2 separate regions of the Homo sapiens genome follow, and region 2 is linked to region 1. Evidence: promoter capture Hi-C in 16 types of primary human blood cells and fetal thymus (Javierre and others, 2016). All regions are on one chromosome and are shown on one strand. The core of a region is centred on a gene start or on the middle of the fragment in contact, and the rest is flanking DNA. Distances in the headings are between cores, read along the strand shown. Region 1 holds the start of ZNF212 (zinc finger protein 212). Region 2 has its middle 11 kb from the start of TRC-GCA11-1.

The links. Contacts are between HindIII fragments. The CHiCAGO score rates a contact against its expected background, and 5 or more counts as called.
Region 2: a contact is called between a fragment that was not itself captured here and the fragment with the promoter of ZNF212 in region 1, in 1 of 17 cell types (non-activated CD4 T cells). The highest score is 5.7, in non-activated CD4 T cells.

The regions. Positions count from the first base shown.
Region 1 is chr7:149,236,153-149,242,551 of GRCh38, reverse strand. It overlaps ZNF212 (zinc finger protein 212), which reads right to left and starts at 2,901. Exons shown (of 5, transcript NM_012256.4): 1 at 2,750-2,901. The coding sequence starts at 2,773. RefSeq lists an enhancer at 2,840-3,134. The HindIII fragment of the contact is 6,599 bases long and covers 2,067-6,399 here.
Region 2 is chr7:149,423,786-149,429,402 of GRCh38, reverse strand. No RefSeq gene overlaps it. Among named protein-coding and RNA genes, the nearest start is that of TRC-GCA11-1, 11 kb to the right of the region's middle. The HindIII fragment of the contact is 5,723 bases long and covers 1-5,064 here.

The DNA of each region.
Region 1 (6,399 bases), core at 1,652-4,151:
AATTTGTCTAAAAATGTCTTCTTTACATCTTTGTTTCTGAAACATTTTTGCTGCATATAAAACTATGGGACCACAGTTACTTTCTTTCAGCCTATTGACAATATCATTCTACTTTTGCCTAGCTTCCATGGTTGCTGTTGAGAAGCTGGCCCCCATTCATTTTGCTGTACTTCATTTCAAGGTAGTCTTTTTTTTTTTTGGTTGCTTTTAAGAATTCCCTCTGCCTTAGGCCGGGTGCGGTGGCTCATGCAGTGGTAATCCCAGCACTTTGGGAGGCCGAGGCAGGTGGATCACCTGAGGTCAGGAGTTCAGAGACCAGCCCAGCCAACACGGTGAAACCCCATCTCTACTAAAAATACAAAATTAGCCAGGCATGGTGACGCATGCCTGTAATCCCAGCTACTCCGGAGGCTGAGGCAGGAGAATCGCTTAGAACCTGGGAGGCAGAGGTTTCAGGCAGCCAAGATTGCTCCACTGCACTCCAGCCAGAGCAAGAGAGCGAGACTCTCTCAAAAAAAAAAAAAAAAAAAGAAAAGAAAAGAAAAAGAAGAAAAGAAAGAAAAGAAACGAAACTATGGCCAGGCACGGTGGCTCACGCCTGTAATCTCAGTGCCAAGGTTTAACAACTTACTTTGCAATCATCTGAAGGTCAGACCTTACTTTCAGTTCACCCTTACACAGAATGTTACCCTTTGAACTCTCTGCTTCATGGGATTGGGTTAGGGAGCTTCTTAGACTTTCCATCTTAGGCTCTGAGATGTGTGTTCCATTTTGCAGGTCCCTTGAATCATAAACACCAAAGATGAATGTTTGGCCAATGCCCTCAAAGTTGGCTTCAGAACTCTATCACTTTCGAGTTTCCTCTTTCGCTTAAGTTTTGGGGCTCCAAGTATTCTTTACTAAAATACATTTCAAATGCATTTATGTGCAGGGTTTTCCAGCATTTTCAGTTGTTTCATCAGGGCACCTACTTGAGCTTACTGTTAAATGACAGACACCTGAAATGTCTGAGAAGAGAAACAGGCTCAAGAACAATTTGAATAAGTTCTACAACGACAGATTCATGTTATTTAAGGCATAGTTTGGGATTGTGGTGGACTTTTTTTTTTTTTTTTTTTTTGAGACAGAGTCTTGCTCTGTCACCCAGGCTGGAGTGCAATAGCACGATCTCAGCTCACTGCAACCTCCACCTCCCAGGTTCAAGCGATTATTCTGCCTCAGCCTCCCGAGTAGCTGGGTCTACAGGCACCCGCCACCACGCCCGGCTAATTTTTGTATTTTTAGTAGAGACCGGGTTTCACCACATTGGCCAGACTAGTCTTGAACTCCTGACCTCGTGATCCGCCCTCCTCGGCCTCCTAAAGTGCTGGGATTACAGGCATGAGCCACTGCGCCTGGCCTGTGGTGGACCTTTAAGGCTTCTTCCTAACAAGGTCTACTGACGACATGTAGGTAATTGTGGAGTGACCTGGCAGGAAGAACTGTGGCAGAATCCTCTCGCCGGACTCTAACACTAACTAGATCTTGTGGAAAAGCCAAGTCTTTGACTGGCTCAGCCTAGCTTATAGGAGTCAGATGAGGTTAATATTGTAAACATTTGTGTCTTGTCTTCCCAATTCAACTGTTAACTTCCTTGAAAGCAAATACTGTGTTCTCTAAGTCTCCCAATCTCTCCGTTCTTAGTTCTTAACGCACTTTCTACAAGAATCAAATATAGCGCACCCTGCTCATGGTCAAATTTTCCCCACAGAATTTCCTTAGCCCTCCATTCTCACAAAGATCTAACATGATTCTCGAAGTGTTTCTAGACCAAGGAACACTTCATTAAAAGTCAATTCAATTCCAGCTGCCCCTTCCGTTGCAAACCCTCTGGTGTTGTTAAATTAACCACTACTTTGAAACAGTATGGGAACAGTATGAGAATGTCGGAGCTGGAAGGAAACTTAAAGCCTTGGAGATCATCTAGCAACTACTCCAACACTCTCGATTTACAGTTAAGAAAACGAAAGAGACCCAGAGAAGCGAACACAGTTGCCTAAAATCACCCAAATGGACAGCTGAAAGCTTCGTGACTCCACAAATAGGATTTTCCTCACACCAAACTCCGTATCTTGACATTCCCAGAATGGGGATGGTCGGTGGGCTGGGAGGGGGGTGTTGGGGGGGGGGTGAAGGAGAGAGTTTGGGCAGCTCTACAAACAAAATGCAGCAACTGCACTGTAGATAACATCCGTCCCCAAGGAGAAGCAGCCCAGGCTGACTTCAACCTGTGGCTGCAACCCCCAGACAGAAATCTGCAGCACTGGAAAAACCGACAACACATCGGACCGAAGAGGAGGTGGTCGCAGAGAGGCAAGTCCTGGGGTCTCCCGGGCAGCGGGAGAGCTCACTCGTAGCGACGGAGACCGTTTCCAATCTGGAAACACTCCAACCTGGGAACGGGCTCTTTTGGCACGAAAGAGAAAATGTGTGGGCAGGGTCACAAATCCACCAACCTAAAGCAAGCGTCAGAGAAGTTTCTGGGCAAGGGCGCACGGCGCCGAGGCTCCGACCCCGCTGCAGAAGGAAGCGGAGGGAAAAAAGGGCAGAGCACTGGGGTCGCGAAGAGGAGGGTCCGCGTTCACCCGCGCCAACGGCAGCCCCGGGAAACCAAGACCCCGGCGGCGTCCAAACCGCGAAGCCCCGCCCCCGGCAGGGGACTCCGCCATCCCCAACGCGCCCTCGAGCCAGCGCGCCGGTGCCTCTTTACCCGAGCAGGCGCCGACTCCGCCATGGCTCCAGTCGCCCCTCAACACCCAGACCCCGCCTCGGAGCCCCCGTGCTGCGTTCCTGTCCGCTCGGCGCCCCAGAGCCTGTTGGAAGCCGCCGCCGCCGCCGCCGTGTTGATGCCAGGTGCATTCTGGGAGCAGCGACCTCCCCGGCACAAGACCGGCTCCAGCCGCTCTTCCTCACTGTGCAGGCTTCCCATTGTGCCCCCGTGCGGCGGGAGGGAGAACGCTGCTTGGCACTCCCGGCCAGAGTGCGGGCACCAGGAGGGCTCAGTCACTCAAAAGTCAAGACCAGGTTCCGCGTTTCAGGCAAAGCCACGGGATCCTGCTGTCTTCCGTATGCCCAGCACTCTGCTAAATGCTTTGAGGGATTCAAAAATGTGTACAACTCAGACTTTTTGCTGAGGAAAGAACATGTAATGTTGTTGGGGAAAAGAAATATGGTTCCAAAAGGCAAGTGATTTTATTCCAAAAGTTCACCTGTTATTTGGCTTTTTAGAAACTGGGAACAGTTTCCATATCAACAGTGTGGAGCGTGGGGTCAGGCCCAGGCCAGCCCTCTGTAGCCTGTTAATTATGGTAATCATGTGCCTTGGAAAGTCCAAGACAACCCTGATTTCAAATATTTCCAGTCCTCATGCTACATGTAAGACGATGTGTCTGGAATTTTTGTTGGAAAGCACGGCCACATGACCATTTAATCGCCATGTACTTAATCCCCAATACCAGCAACACTACGGCAACCATAGCTGCCTAATTTATACCATTGTCTCTCTGGAGACAAGCAATGAACTTCCACTTCACAGGATAGGCGTGAAGTGTTTCCTCTGAGAACGAAACTTTTTTTTTTTGAGATGGAGTTTCGCTCTTGTTGCCCAGGCTGGAGTGCAATGGCGCAATCTCGGCTCACTGCAACCTCCACCTCCCGGGCTCAAGCGATTCTTCTGCCTCAGCCTCCCTAGTAGCTGGGATTACAGGCATGTGCCACCACGCCTGGCTAATTTTGTATTTTTAGTAGAGACGGGGTTTCCCCATGTTGGTCAGGCTGGTCTCAAACTCCCGACCTCAGGTGATCCGCCCACCTCAGCCTCCCAAAGCGCCGGGATTACAGGTGTGAGCCACCCCACCCGGCGGAGAACGAAACTTTTAAGATCATGACTGGCTCCTTCCTCACATGCAGGGCTCAGTTCAGATTCTACATCCTCAGAGAGATATCCCCAGTCCCCCCTTTCTACAGCCCCACACCATCCTCCATCTCAATACTCAATCTCGTTACCCTGCTGGAAATTTTTCATACCATTTATCACCATCTGAAGTAATCTCTCTTTTTCACTCATTTACATATTAATTATCTGTATCTCTTCCACTGAAATGTCTGTCTACTGTATCCTCCATTTGTTGTACACAGAAGTGTTCATATTTGTAAATGATTGAATGGTGAATCAGAGTGTAAGGATATGAAATGTCATCTCAAACAGAGGCATTATTTCCAGGGCAACTAGATCAACGGGCACGTCACTGAATCATTAATAAATCTAGAGAAAGAATGGGCCAGGCTGAAGAAACCGGTCAGTCAGGGAGATCCTGTCCAGAGGGTCTGACCTAATCTCTCAGACCAACAAACTCTTGGTGTCAGATACAGAAAAAAAAAAAAATGTGTCATGGGTGAGGTGGCTCATGCCTGTAATCCTAGCACTTTGGGAGGGCAAGGCAGGAGGATCACTGGAGTTTGAGACCAACCTGAGCAAATAGGCAGACCCTGTCTCTACAAAATTAAAATTAAAATTAAAATGAGCCAGGAGTAGTGGTGCACACCTGTAGTCTCAGCTACTCAAGAGGTTGAGGTGGAAGAATCATTTGAACCCAGTAGTTCAAGGCTGCAGTGAATCACGATCGCACCACTGCACTCCAGCGTAGGCAACAGACCAAGATCTTGTCTTTAAAAATAAAATAAAAATGTTATCCTCCACAGGCACAATATCAGGACATAGGATGCTGAGGTCATTAAACAGTTCGGTCGTAGAACTCATTCCCTCTATTCTATTTCTATACTCACAAGGCAACCTTCTGACGTTGCATGTTGCCAGGTAGCTTCTGGGAGGCAACATGCAGGTGAAGCTGATGCACATGTATACCTCAGTCTCTTGAAAATGAGCATGTTTCAGCATCCCAGACTCTGAGCCTGGAAGTCTGGAAAAAGGTTCAGATCAAATTTCCAGCCTGCAAAGGAGGCAGCACCAGGCACCAGGGTTGCAATCACGTGGGCTGGTGGAGATGGTGTGGCGCCTGCAGTCCCCCGGGCTGATGAAGACAGTGTGGCACAGTGATTTGCTAAGTGGGGCTGGGGAGTGAGACCGTCTGGGTCCCTAGCCCAGCACTGCCAGTATATTAGGTTTCTCTAGACAGACTAATAGGATATATATATAATGTTATATAAAGGGGAGTTTATTAAGTATTAACTCACATGCTCACAAGGCTCCACAATAGGCTATCTGGAAGCTGAGGAGCAAGGAGAGCCAGTCTGCGTCCCAAAACTGAAGAACCTAGAGTCTGATGTTCGTTGATGTTCGAGGGTGGGAAGGGTCCAGCATGGGAGAAAGAAGTAGGCTGGGAGGCTAGGCCAGTCTAGTCTTTTCACATTTTTCTGCCTACTTTATATTCTAGCTGTGCTGGCAGCTGATTAGATTGTGCCCACCAGATTGAGGGTGGGTCTGCCTTTCCCAGCCTACTGACTCAAATGTTAATCTCCTTTGGCAACACCCTCACAGACACACCCAGGATCAATACTTTACATCCTTCAATGCGATCAAGTTGATTCAGTATTCACCATCACAGCCACTTACTAGATGTGAAACTTGGTCAGGTCTTTAACTTCTTAGTACTTGTTTCCTCATGATTATTGGTGAATAGATAACAGTACTTAGCTCATAGAGTTGTGTGAATTAAATGAGTGAATTCAAGTCAAGTGCTTAGAACAGTACCTGGCACAGAGGAAGAGCTCAAGAAGTACTCATGATCATTATTGTTGTTTAGTCCCAGATCCTTCATTTACTAAGTGCTGTGGCTCATGCTCACTCTGCCCTAGTGTCCTTGTCTTCCACTGAGAATGTGAACACCTCATCCTAAGGTTGCTGATGGAACTAAAAGAAAGAATTTATGTAAAGTGCTTATGTAGCCAAGTGCCCGGCATACAGCAAGCACTTGATAACAGGCAATTTCTTCTCTCTGCTTTACTTTTGCAAGGTCCAAGCCTTGTATTGCAATGAGTTCAGCAGGATAAATGTGGCTTTGTTGTGTCTCTTAGAAACTACCCATTTGTTTTTTCCAACTGACATTCAAATCTTGACATATGCTGTTTTAAAAAACGTTGTTGGCCGGGTGTGGTGGCTTACGCCTGTAATCCCAGCACTTTGGGAGGCCAAGGCAGGCGGATCACAAGGTCAGGAGATCGAGACCATCCTGGCTAACATGGTGAAACCCTGTCTCCACTAAAAATACAAAAAATTAGCCAGGTGTGGTGGCGGGCGCCTGTAGTCCCAGCTACTCCAGAGGCTGAGGCAGGAGAATGGTGTGAACCTGGGAGGCAGAGCTTGCAGTGAGCGAGATTGCACCACTGCACTCCAGCCTAAGC
Region 2 (5,617 bases), core at 954-3,453, 190 kb before region 1:
TCTAGGAAATCTGGGTGGTTTTTGTTTCGTTTTGCTTGTTTTCTGAGACAGGGTCTTGCACTGTCACCTAGGCTGGCATGTGGTGGCACCATCATGGCTCACTCTGACCTCAACCTCTTAGGCTCAAGCAGTCCTCCTGCCTCAGCCTCTCGAGTAGCTGGGGGACTACAGGTGTGCACCACCACACCCAGCTAATTTTTTTTTTAACTTTTTTGGAGATGGGGGAGTCTTTCTGTGTTGCCCAGGCTGGTCTCAAAACTCCTGGCCTTAAGCCATCTTCCCACCTCAGCCTCCCAAAGTGCTGGGATTACAGGTATGAGCCATAGCTCCCATCTGAAATTTGTTTTTTAAAAGGATTAAACCAAATATAGTCAAAGATTGGTATTTCTTTTTCTTTTAACTGACAATTTATTGCACCAACTAGAACAGCCTGGTTCGTGCATCCTTACGTCTCTGTCTATTGGGATACCATTTAAAGTCTTTCAGAACACGTCATAGTATGTCAAGATTGGTTCATCTTACACGTAGCTGGGCTGCCATGACTTCCCTGACTTCTACCTCCCCTTCCTTGGCTCTGACTCCCTCCTCATGCCTCTTCCTAAGTGCCCAGCACCCTGTGCCCCCCATCGTCTCTCCCCTTGTTCTGACTTCTTGCCACCATCTTGAATCTCACTTTCCATTTGCCCTAATCTCTGCTATTGGTTCCTAAAGTGTAGATAGCCTTTGGTGTCAAAAAGACGTGGCTTTAAACTTCATAGTTGTATGGCCTTGAACAAGTTAATTAACAGAACATCAATTTCCTCATCTGTCAAATAGGGATAATAAAGTTCCCATTGTTCTGAGGCTTAAATCACAATAGATACATAGCAAAGACACTGGCAGATACTAAGGTCTCAATAAGAGATTACTAATTTCAAACAGAAGTTCAAGTTGGTAGTGGGCTAGTGTTATATCCTAAAAGAATGAATCTTTGAGAAGGAAATTTCAGTAGGCAAATGTAGATTATTTTGGTGTGAGAAAGTACAAATTAAACCACAACTATATCATGGTCCTTATCTAGGAGTGGACAGGGTTTCAGTTCACCCCTTGGCCACACTCCAGAGTTTGCAGGAGGTAGTACCCCACCTCGCTGAGTTTTCTGGTCCTCTTTCACAGTGCTTTTCTTGGGTGCCCTTAATTTAATTAGACTTGTGAACTCCTAAGTTGCCTGTTGCTGTTGGCCCCATAAAGCTGTGTAGCAGAAGGAATAACTACCATTTATTGAGAGCTTCTTACTTTGGAAGACTTTACATACATCCCTTCATAACTCTGATGTATGTTTCATTACACCCATTTTATAGGTGGAAAGCTCCAGGCTCAGGGAGGTTAAGTAGGCCCAAAGTCACACAGCAACCAAATAGTAGAGCCAGGATTTGAACTCAGTTCTTTGACTCCAAAGCCCATGTGCTTGGCCAAAAAGTTGTTTTCCTGGGGCCAGTATCGTTGTTGAAAAAAGAAAAGCCAGCACCTCTTTTAAATTATTCCATTTTGCCTCCGGATTTTTTGACTGAAGATAAAATTGGGGGAAACAAAATATATTAAACAGAACATGCTCTGTGCATTTGCCAAAATGATGAACACAGTAAGAGGATAAAAAAGAATGTTTGAGGCAGGAAAAAACCCTTAGCGCTGAGCCCTAGCATTTTATAGCTGAGAAATGAAGAGGAGAGGAGTTGGGTCCTCCAAGGTCACAGGTGGGACAGGCAGGGCTGGTGCCGAGGGGATGCTCACTGTCTTACAGCCCTGCACCCCCCCCCCAGTATTTATTAATCACCACTTGTGTGCAAAGAATTGTGCTGGGCTCTGTGGAGAAACACAAGAGGATTAGGAATCCCTGGCTGCCTAGACAGCACTTAGCATCTGGTGGAGACTGGCAGCCTGGTTAAGCCTCTGGGGATCTGGAAAGCTGGGACCATCAGAGAGGCCTTTAGGCGGCTGTCTCTGATAAAGGACCGCATCCCCAGCTTTTCTTCATTCCTCTTCAGTGGATGTAGCCTGAACCAGCCAGGTGTCTGTGGGAGACCTTTCCTGAAGCACTGTGGTGGCAGCTCCTCAGATTAAGGGATCAGGGACAGAGGCCCTCCAGGCCCTACTGTTGCCAGGGCAACATTGAGTCAGGCCAGGGCCTCTCCTCCAGCGCTCTGGAAAGCATTACTGCTGCTGAAGCCTCTTGTTGCTTCCCAGTCATACTGGCAACTTCTAGATGACAATTTGTAAAAAAAAAAAAAAAAAAAAATCAACTTTGCATCTACCATTTCTAGTTGGTTTCCTTGAAATGAGGAATTTTAGTTAAAATATAGACTTTAGCCCTTTTATTTCTGTTTTCTACAAAGGACAGCTCCAGGTTAAATGATTTCTCTAAAAAAAAGAAAGAAAAGGAAGGTGAAAGGAAGGAAAAAAGGGGAAAAGACCAGGATAGAAAGAAAGAAAAGAAAACATTAAACATAGTACTATTGATCGCAACCTTACATGAAAAGTTCTGTTCAGAAGTCAGAACTAGCCATAAGTTTATTAAGGATAATAACTAAAATCACTACAATTCATTGAGTTTTACCATGTTGCAGTCACTGTGCCAGATCATAAACGCTTTCCTTTCATTTTATCTTGCAACAACCTGTGAAATTGGTATCTGTGTCCCCTTGAACAGATGAAGTTCAGAGAGGTTCAGCCATCAGCAGCCAAGGTCACACGGCCAGAATTTAAACCTAAGTGGGTGGGAACCCCAGCTGTGTGCTATTAACCACTGTTACATACTGCCTCCCAATTTCAACATGGATCCTTAATAAAAAGGGCAAAACATGACTATTTCTCTTTGATTTGCAGCTCTCACTGTCTATGGGCACAGCATGTGAGTCTGGACCTGCCTGAAAGCACAGTTCCCTGGCTGCCTGGCCAGCCAAGCCCAGGCGACATTGGGAGACGTCCTGAGGTTCACCTGACCAGGGTAGAATAGGTGTTCCTGGGCACACTGGTGGTTAGAACACCAATCCAGCCCCCGTTTTAGACTGAGTCCTCTATACCTTAGGGACTTTGGGGAGAGCACTGTTATGGCAAGAGGCCACCTTTCTCTGTTTATTTCTGACGTTGGGACCTAAGAAGCCATTTGTTTATCAGTCAGAGGAGTAGTTGCATGAAGGAGATTATTATAAGGAAGAAATACCTGCTCCCTAATAACACAAAATACACCCTTGACTCTAATCCTGCCGGCTCAGTGCTACCTCTAAGTTCTCACCATTCCCTCCCCGCCACTACCGCATGAATGAAACTCACTGCTTCTCTTTGTAAAATAATATCTCAAAATAACTCAAGTATTATAAGACAGGAGCATCACTGCTGTCTATTAATTCAGGTAATGGAAAGTTGAATTTTAATGACAAAATGTATCAGTGAAAATGTCTATCCCTGCTGGTAATTTTATTTAAAGAATGATTATCAGGACAACAGACTGTTTCTTCTTAAAATCAGTATAGTCTAATAAGTATAAAATCTTTTTAAAAATTAAATGCAATCAGCTCTTCATTTACCTGATACACAAATAATCAAATTATGCCCTCAAAGGATTGAAATAGCTTGGATTTAAGCTAAACTCAATTAAGAAAAGTAAACAAGTATGAAAGGTGAAACTTGCCATTTTTCCACAGAAGGTACCAGCCAAGAACTACATGGTCCCATGATCAAATTTGCTGCAGGTAAATTATGCAAATTCTAAAATTTAAGATTAAAAAAATTTATTTATTTATTTTTGAGACAGGGTCTTGCTCTGTCTCAGGCTGGAGTACGATGGTGACATCATGGCTCACTACAGCCTGGACCTCCCACATTCAGGTGATCCTCCCGCCTCAGCCTCCTGAGTAGCTGGGACCACAGGCATGAGCCACCAAGCCTAATTTTCTTATTTTTAGTAGAGACATGGTCTCATCTCACTACGTTGTCTAGGCTGGTCCCAAACTCCTGGACTCAAGCAATCCTCCATAGGCCTCCCAAAGTGCTGGGATTATAGGTGTGAACCACCGCGTCTGGCGTATACAAAAAAATTTCTGCTAGGTGTGGTGGTTCACACCTGTAATCCCAGCACTTCGGGAGGTCTAAGGAGGAGGATCGCTTGAGCCCAGGAGTTTGAGACCACCCTGAGCAACATAGTGAGAATCTGTCTCTTAAAAAAAATTCTGTATATATTTTTCGATTTGGATGATAGTCATCACTATAAATCACATTAATTTTGTCAAAAAGTAAAGACACTAAGTTGGTTCCCATAGTTACCCCCTGAACAATTTAATAATAATGACTGTCCAACTAAAATTTGTATTATTTCTTTCCCACTTTAACCCAGTGGTTCCTTACTGTGTCTTGAATTAATCAATGCCTTACCAAGCCAATTTATCCAGTGATGCATTCTGAAATAAGTTTGGGAAAAAAAAAAAACCTCAAATGTTTCAGAGTGCTGCTAAAAAAGCAAGTCAATATTCAGACCAATTTAAGCCAGTCTCTGGTGTGTTTAATTCATACAGTAGACAAATTGAGAGAAATAGACACATTTTCCTTGCCCAAATTGTTGCCAGCTCTTCAGAGTCTTGAAACAAACGTTAATTGCATACAAACATGCTTGGGTGTTCATTTTACCAAAAAGATGAACTCTTATTAGTATGTAGTAATCACATAACAGAATTCCAGAATCTTATTTAAAATTCTTTGCCCCCAAATGAAAATAGCGTTTTTTTCTGGTTGTAGAAGGAATTTCTATGTTCTAAACAATAAAAACTTACAATTGAATGAGTCCCTTATTTCTCCAAGAGAAGGTATCAAGTCTTTTCCATAACTATGGAAGAAATCAATTTTAACCACCCAGTATGAGGACTTCTAACCATCTCCACCTGTGAAATTACTTGGAAGAGTTCATCCCTTCTCTGTAGAACTAAATCTGTAATATATTTTAGAATCTCTTTCAGATTCAGGACATGAAATCTTTATCAAATTTATAATGGTCAGCCAAATTTTTTGCACTTCATCTGTCAGTGTTTTCAAGCTTTCGTTTGTAGCCTCCGGAATCCCTTGTTTAAATAAAACAATTTTCAGAAGCTAAATATGTAAAATAACTCGTGCCTTAAGAGGCTGGAGAGGGAGCCAAGCCTACCTGCTCTGGCGCCCCCGTCTTCCCAAACTCCCCCTGCGCTGAGGGGTCTCCAAGGAGGAAGCTCACTTCAAAAACCTCTGCCCTGGGCAAGTCACCAGGGCTCCTTTTCTCTTGCTTCAACCTTTCCTAGCCTCAATCCAAACTCTGTATGTTTAATTTATCCAGTGACACACTCCATGCTTACTTAATTCTTTGATAGAACAGTTTCTTAGTTTTATTTTTTTTCCTTGTGGGATATGCATGCTTTCCTATTCTCTATGCGTTACTTGGCAGATGTTCATATCAGAAAATGGTAAGTCTCTATAACCTTGCCAGTGAAATCCAGAGAGCTAACATCCACTGAGAATCCCTGGAAGGCCGGGGAAGATAGCAGGACAGATGTCTTAAGCCCTGTGAGAAAGCTACAAAGACGTCTCCCCCGCCCCAACCCCCATGTTATTTTTACAG